Regions from separate parts of the Homo sapiens genome. Here region 1 is linked to region 2. The links are contacts of gene promoters, found by promoter capture Hi-C in human tissues and cell types (Jung and others, 2019). All regions are on one chromosome and are shown on one strand. The core of a region is centred on a gene start or on the middle of the fragment in contact, and the rest is flanking DNA. Distances in the headings are between cores, read along the strand shown. Region 1 has its middle 89 kb from the start of ZDHHC21. Region 2 holds the start of CER1 (cerberus 1, DAN family BMP antagonist).

Region 1 (4,068 bases), core at 606-3,105, 120 kb before region 2:
AGAACTTAAAGTATAATAATAATAATAAAAAGAACCTAACAGAAATATCGGAACTGAAGAATTCAATGAATGAAATAAAAAAATTCAATAGAGAGCTTCAACAATAGACTAGATCAAGCAGAAGAAAGAATTTCTCAACTTGAAGACAGGTCATTTGAAATAATTCAGTCAAATTTAAAAAATGAAGAAAGCCTACAATGACACAAGGGACCTCATAAAGTGACAAAGTATTCGCATCTTGGGAGTTCCATGAGATGAGATGGCCAAAGGCACAGAAAACTTATTTAATGAAATAATAGCTAAAAACTTCCCAAGTCTTGCCAGAGATACAGGCATCTAGATAGACAAAGTGCAGTGATTCCCAAGTATATTAAACCTGAACAGGTCTTTTCCAATGCACACACCATATAGTCAAACTGTCAAATGCCAAAGCCAAAGGAAATAAATCTAAAAGCAGCAAGAGAAGAGCATCAAGTCACATATAAGGAAATCCCCATCAGACAAACAGATTTGTCAGTAGAAAATTTATAGGTCAGAAAAAATGGGATGACATTTTTAAATTGCTGAAACGAAAAGAAACATACTCACAACATGAATGAATCTCAAAAATATGCTGAGCAAAAGCCAGTGAAAAACAAAGGACAAAAGCCAGGCACAGTGAATTGCACTTATAATCCCAGCCACTCGGGAGGCTGAGGCAGAAGGCCTGCTTGAGCCCAGGTGTTCGAGGTTACAGTGAAGTTATGATCATGCCACTGCATTCCAGCAGCCTGGAAAACAGAGAGAGAGACTTCATCTCAAAAAAAAAAAAAAAAAAAAAAAAAAAGGGAGAATTTCATTCATGCGAAATTCTGTAAAAGGCAAATCTAACTTACAGTCACAGAAAACAGGTCCGCGTTTCCTGGAGGGGTGGGAGTTGAGGGGGAGCAGTAAAGTGGCCTGAGGAAACTTTTTGGGTGATTGAATATTCCATATTTTGAATATGTTGATAGCTACATGGATATACATATTTCTAAAAACTCACTGAAATGTACTTAAAATGAATACATTTTGTTGTGTTTAAACTATCCCTCAATAAAGTGAACTTTAAAAATGGAAGACAGAAAATAATGTATTAAACTCCAAATTATATTTTTAAAAGTATGATAGGAAATAAAAACATAAATTCTTATGTCAAATAGGAGGAGTTACCTCCTATTTGAGGTACCATTTCTTACATGAATATTACAATTAGAAATATATAGGTAAATCCTCCTGAAATTTTTAAGATAACCACTGGAAGAATTAAATGCATGCTATACTTCAAGGACACAAATGACACTGCAAATCAGATGTGAAAAAATGTGCTAAACAAAAAATTGTTGTGGTATTTTTCCCCAGTGTGGTTTTTACTTCTATGAAGACCCAGTAACAAGCACAACCGTAACATGAAAGATTTGGATTCAACCACTTTTACATAAACGCAACCAAAGCTCGTTAATCTACCCTCATGTGATATATAAATTACTGAGCTAATCTTGATTTGCTAGATAAATAAAATATGAAAATAAGATCTCAACAGGCAATACTTATTTTTATAAGGACTTTACAAATTTATCTACCTGTGAAATATTTAGAAAAAGGGAATCGCTGCTCTTTATTAAGAAACAAATACAATCAAGTGGATCCTGAACTTTAGAGGGGTCGAACTCTAAGTATTCAGTAATGTGGTTTATCTCTGGCTACCTCATAAGAGCATAATTTTTTATTCATATTTATAGTCGTAGATGTTGACTCATCCCTTGATTTGCCTTAAGAAAATATATCCTTCATGAATTATTGAGTTATTAGAGTCATGTTTTTATTCACTTTTTCTCTCGATATTTACAAAGACTTTTTCCAGAAAATTACATTAGATTCCTGGCAAATCGATTGGACTGACAAATGATGCAGGAAGCAGCAAAAATATGTATCAATAACAAATAGGAAAAACTCATTACATAGGGTTAGTGAGGATGTGGGGGAAGATGAAACAATATATATGTTGGTTGGAGTGTAAATTGGTTTGACTAAAGAGCAATTTGGGAAAGCTTTTACAGTTGAAGATGCACATACCTTACCATTCCACTATTTCACTTCTCTTTGAACAAGTTAATAACAAAGGAAATAATCCACTTAGTGAATAATATATAAACTACAGTTTATTCAAATAATTGTTCTGTGGGATTTATAATGAATGGCCCAAATCTACATTAATAAAGATGTTTTGTTTAAAAAATGTGATGCTGATTAAAATTTACATAAATGTAAAATTTGAAAATAGTATCATTTATGGATGCTACATACATCATAAAAGCACAAAAACATTCATGAAAATAATTCACACTGACTTTAGGATGGCGGCTACCTCTAGGGAGGAAAACTGCAGGTTGAGGACTTAGATGTATCTGTAACATTGCATGTTTTTAGAAAACAAAGTGAGAAAACTGAAAAAAGCAAAACATTAGCATGTAATTAATCTTGGTATTTTTAATTACACAAATTTAGTAAACTCTCCAGTTATTATTTTTCATACTTCACATTACTTTTTATTGTGGCAAAAAGCACATGAGATCAATCCTCTTAGTAAATTTTTAAATATACAGTACGGTACTGTTAAATTTTAAGTATAGTGCAGTACTATAAGCATAATGTTATACAACAGAGCTCTAGAACTTTTTAAACTCGCGTGACAGAAACTCTATACCTTTTGAACAGCAGTTCCCCAATTCCCCCTCCCCACAGCAGCCACCATTCTACTGTTTCTATAAGTTTGACTACATTAGATACTTCATATTGGTGAAATCATGCAGTATTTGTCCTTCTGTGGCTGGCTTATTTCACTTAGCAAAATGTTGTCAAGGTTCAAGCTGCAGCATCTGACAGTATTTCCTTCCTTTTCTATGGCTGAATAACATTCCATTGTACGTATATACTAAATTTTCTAAATTCATTCAACCATCAATGGGCATTTAGGTTGTTTCCATCTCTTGGCTATTATGAATACTGCATTAATGAAATGGGGAGTGCAAATATCTCTTCCAGATCCTGGTTTCATTTTTTTTTTTTTTAATATCCAGAAGTGGGAATCCTGAATCATATAGCATTTCTAATTCTTCTGAGGAACTTCCATACTGTTTTTCAAAACAGCTGCACCATTTTACACCCCTAGTAACAGTACATAAGGGTTCCAATTTCCCCACATCCTCACCAACACTATTTTTTTCAAATGGCCATTCTAACAGTTGTGAGATAATACCTCGTTGTAATTTTGCATCTCTCTATTAGTGATGTTGAGCATCCCTTCACGTACCTGTTGGTCATTTGTGTGTCTTCTTTGGAGAAATATCTATTAAAGTCCTTTGCCCATTATTTAATCAGTCTTTATATGGATTTTTTTCTTCTATTAAGTTGTAGGAGCTCGTTTTGTATTTTGATTAACCTCTTAGCAAATATGTGGTTTGAAAATACCTTCTCCCATTCGATAGACTGCCATTTGATTCTATTAAGTCTCCTTAGCTATGCAGAAGCTTTTAAAGTTGATGCAGTCCCACTTGTCTATATTTGCTTTTGTTGCTTGTGCTTTTGGTGTTATCTCCAAGAAGTCAACAATGTTATGAAGATTTTCCCCTATGTTTTCTTTTAGGAGTTTTATACTGTCAGATCTTATGTGTTGTTAATATTTTGTCCATCTGAAATAATTTAGTTTCTCACTATACAATATTACAGAAACAAGTTTCCAAAAATGTACAAAACATTGAAGTTTGTAAAAATAAAGCTACACTGGGGTTTATGAAAATAAACTTCAAATGGATTCAAGGGCATAATAGTTAAAAAAACAAAAATATCAAAGTTTTCTTGAAAAATGAAGGAAAATACATAATCTTGATTTAGGAAAGACCTTTCTAAACAAGGTAATAAAACCCAGAAGTCATAATAAAAAGTACTAAATTTCAAGGTAGTTTAATTCTTCCATACAACATGATGATTGGGCAAATTTAATTTCCAAAGATGTCCTCAACAATATCTCCCATCCTATATACTTTTCCT
Region 2 (3,858 bases), core at 5-2,504:
GATTTTTTAAAAAGCTCATATGAGAAAATAAGTGAAAGAAAATCACTTTTTTGCTATCATAATACTAGAAATGATATGACAACTTTTGCCTGAGAACCTCAACGTACTTTGAGGTTGTGGGATAGCTTTAGCAAGCTATTAAAGAAGTCCCTCATAAACCTATAAAGTAATTAAGTATGGACTATGGGGATTAAGACCATCGTAAATGGATATGAGAGTATTTGGGAAGGAGTCCAATGCACCCCACTTTATCAACAAATGGAGTTGACCTGCTCATCCACATATTAATAGAGTGCAGAAAGATAGCTACAGAGGAGTTCTGGTGATTACTCTAAATTCTCAGTTTCCTAACTGAGGGTACAGTCTGACTTATATCTCTGAGTAGATCACCTCCAATGCAAAAATAAATAAATAAAACAGAGCTCTGTGTCTTCAGTGTGAATGAATGATTACTGATATTGACAGTATCATCATATCATTCTTGCAGCATTTCCACAATGCCAAGAAAAAATGGAAAGGCCAGAAGGAAACTTAATCTTTGCCAAATCCTATGATGAATGCCCAAGGACCAAATCTGTAGTTAAGCTAGAGTCAGGCTCCTGACAGCCTTTTCCCCTACTCTCCATCCATCCCAGCTGTCCACTACCACCTGCAAACTCTTACCTGCTCTCCCCCCAGAACACATACCTGGCTGAAGGGCACTGTCCTGCAGGTCTCCCAATGTACTTCATGGCTTTTGATGGGCAAGATGACCCCCTGAGAAGCCGGAGTTTTTCTGAACATGAAGTGGTGCCAGAATTTCTTGGCTTCTTCCCGAAGAGGAGATTTCTCCATTTTCATTCCATCTATCGGCTGGATGAGGGACTGGGTCCCAGGTGGGAAGGGCTCACTATCTGAGTCCCTGGATGGATGCATTTCTCTCTCAGGCTTCTTCCAGAACCTGCCAAATCTGGACAGCATCTTCTCTCTCTGCCTCTGGCCTTCCCCTGCAGGGCTGGTGGCTACAAGGTGTGGCACTGCGACAAACAGATCTGGCTTCTCCTCAGCTTCCTCATGGTTGCCTGTGGGAAGCTCTCTTTGATTCCTTGGCAGGAGTACGGGGGAAAGAGAACTCTGATTCTGGCGGCCATCCTGGTGCCGTGTGGTCTTTCCTAGAGGCAGGAGTACCAGCAGCTGAAATAAGAGGAGATGCATGCTGTCAGGGGCCCAAGCTTCTTTTGTAAATGATGAGGCCCAAAGGAGAGGCTCATTCTCTGCAGGACTGGGAAAAAGGAAATCGTATATATAGATACCTGCCTGGCGGGATGGGAAGGCAGGTGGTCAGTAGCCAGGCAGAATAAACACATTTATTGTTTGCTTGAATTATGTAGTGCTAATGGCCTCCTGCCGTCACTTTGGTTTTGTGTATTTTAAAAGGCCCCAGTGAAAGCCTGGGACCCAGGGGGTAATTAGCTAAGAGTTTAGCTATGTCTGGGGCTTAAAGAGCAGTATTAGCAAAGACAACACATTCTTTGCCTAAATTTCCCATGGCTGTTTTCAGAAGAAGGACTAGAGTCAGCTCACATTTGCTGTGCATCTGCCTTGTGCTGGAATAGAATAGACAAGACATGTTGCTGTAAGAGAAGTTTTTGGATAAAAATTAAAGGCATACATTTAGAAAAAGCCCAGGCCTTTAGGAAGGCTATTCACACACACACACACACACACACACACACACACACACACACACACACGAAGAAGTATATCAAAGTTGTAAGGAGAAGAAAGGAAGAGCTAGAAGGATGTTAATTTTTTTGAGCAAGGGACATATTGTTTCTTACTTACATGCAAATTGGGGTTATTGATTTTTGCACAGTAACTGAGTAAAGGGAATATGTTTTCCTTTCCACACGTAGAAACTCACAATTCCCAAGTTAATCCTCTCACATTAAGAATCAATTAATGGGTGCTAAATTTCACAACTGGTCAGTCATCAGATAAACTCTTCCAATTGTTCACATGTTCCTCAACAGGATACCACGTAATAGACTGACAGCTCATCAGTCTTCAATGAGGATAGGGAAATGTCTCCCTCCAGCCATCCTATTGATTTTTTTTTCCCTTTGAACAAAGAGCCAGACATGAGAACGTGGATTCTAAGAACCAGGTTTGATAACTTTGTGTGTGACGCTGGCTAGTCAGTTTCTTACCTTATTGAATCCACATCATCTCCCCTTGTTTTACACTAATTGATGGCCAGGCTAAATAAAGATTGACACAAATAAGAGTCTTCGGGGATCAAAGGAAAAATTGAAAAATAACTATCATTCAAAACTATCATGAATCAGCCTAGGATACGAAAAAGAAACACGTCCAGAAAACTGAAACCCCAGAATAGAGTCCGATCAGCCTACCACATGATTCAAACAGTATTTCCACTGGGAAGCAATGCAATATCTGCTTTTATTTCTCCCCTTTTAATTCAATCACTATATTCCTTGCTTTCAATAACACAAATAGTCCTGGAACATGTTCCCCCTTTTTTGTCAATACTGATTAAACTTTCTTTCCAAGAAGTGACCCACTGGAGTCTGTTTTCCAGGCATTTCTGTTCTTCTTGATAGCCATGCCTGATTTCTATGAAATAAAGCCTTAAGTAAGTCCCTTTACCCATGATAATGAGCTATTTTTAACATGGACCATCACTTTACCAGAATGCCATGAGTGGAGATATATTGTACTTGTACCAAATATCTATGGAACGTGTGCTAGTATTAATGAAAGGTGCTGTTGATATATAATAAATAAGCATGTGTATTTGCCATTGTTTTTTTTTATTTTAGGAAAAGGGTTCTGCTCTGTTGCCCAGTCTGGAGTGCAGTGGTGCAATCATAGCACTCTGTAACCTCAAACTCCTAGGCTCAAGCAAGCCTCCTGAGTAGCTGGGACTACAGGCACACTACCACACCTGGCTATTTAAAATTTTGTGTTGTTGTTGAAACAGAGCCTCACTCTGTTGCCCAAGCTGCTCTGAAACTCTTAGCCTTGAGCCACCATCTTGCCTCTGCCTCCCAAAGTGCTGGGATTACAGGCGTGAGCCACCATGCTATGTCAACATCTTTTTTTTTTTAATTGACTGCTACTTGAATTTCTTAATTCCCCTCAGCCATCCAATGCTATACGCTTTCCAGAGCTAGTCACTAGGCCTCCTGGTATAATATGGTGTGGAAGCCAGCTGTGATACCTTTCCTGAATCCTTTTAACTGTTACTTTTCAGTAACTGAAATTCCATTGTTATCAATCAGAGTATCTACTATTTCCCAAAACTAAAGACAATCTCAGAAATTCTATCTCGGGTCTCAGTTTGCTTGGCTCTGGAATTACTGAACATGAGATACAGTTGAGATAATTCCTGTTGAACTGCAATGTGTAGAAGACTCACTTTGTGTGTTAAGAATCATATTAGATACTGGTAGATAATTGAAAAATGAGTAAAACTTTGTCCCTGCCCTCAAGTAGGTTAGATAGTCTAGTGGGATTTCTTATGCATCATCTAACTTTATTGTATAAAATCATCTATAGGGATGTCAGTTATCCATTTTTCACTTTCCTTTAGTCCTAAACTTCCCTTCCTCTGATCCTAATTTGGGGCTTATAAGTGCCATTTAAAAATCACTCACAGAGAATATCCTTTTGCTGTTCTGTCACTTCTTTTGAGAAAATGTGCAAATATCTTGAAATATTCTCCCTACTCCCATTAGTAAATACTATCCGTGAAAAGTAAATCTAGCAAAGCCAAGCCTTCTGTGATGAGAACTATGAAACAAGCCTATCTCCAACCTCTGCCTTTTTCAGCTAAAGGCAATGACTATCACCTTT

What was found. Contacts are between HindIII fragments. The study calls those that stand out against the background at their distance.
Region 1: a fragment that was not itself captured here is called in contact with the fragment with the promoter of CER1 in region 2 in 3 of the 25 tissues and cell types used here (dorsolateral prefrontal cortex, hippocampus and stomach).

What each region holds. Positions count from the first base shown.
Region 1 is chr9:14,602,130-14,606,197 of GRCh38, forward strand. It overlaps a transcript of ZDHHC21 not described here. Among named protein-coding and RNA genes, the nearest start is that of ZDHHC21, 89 kb to the right of the region's middle. The HindIII fragment of the contact is 3,974 bases long and covers 1-3,842 here.
Region 2 is chr9:14,721,479-14,725,336 of GRCh38, forward strand. CER1 (cerberus 1, DAN family BMP antagonist) reads right to left here and starts at 1,255. Exons shown (of 2, transcript NM_005454.3): 1 at 688-1,255. The coding sequence starts at 1,194. RefSeq lists enhancers at 403-1,342, 1,343-2,280. The HindIII fragment of the contact is 6,126 bases long and covers 114-3,858 here.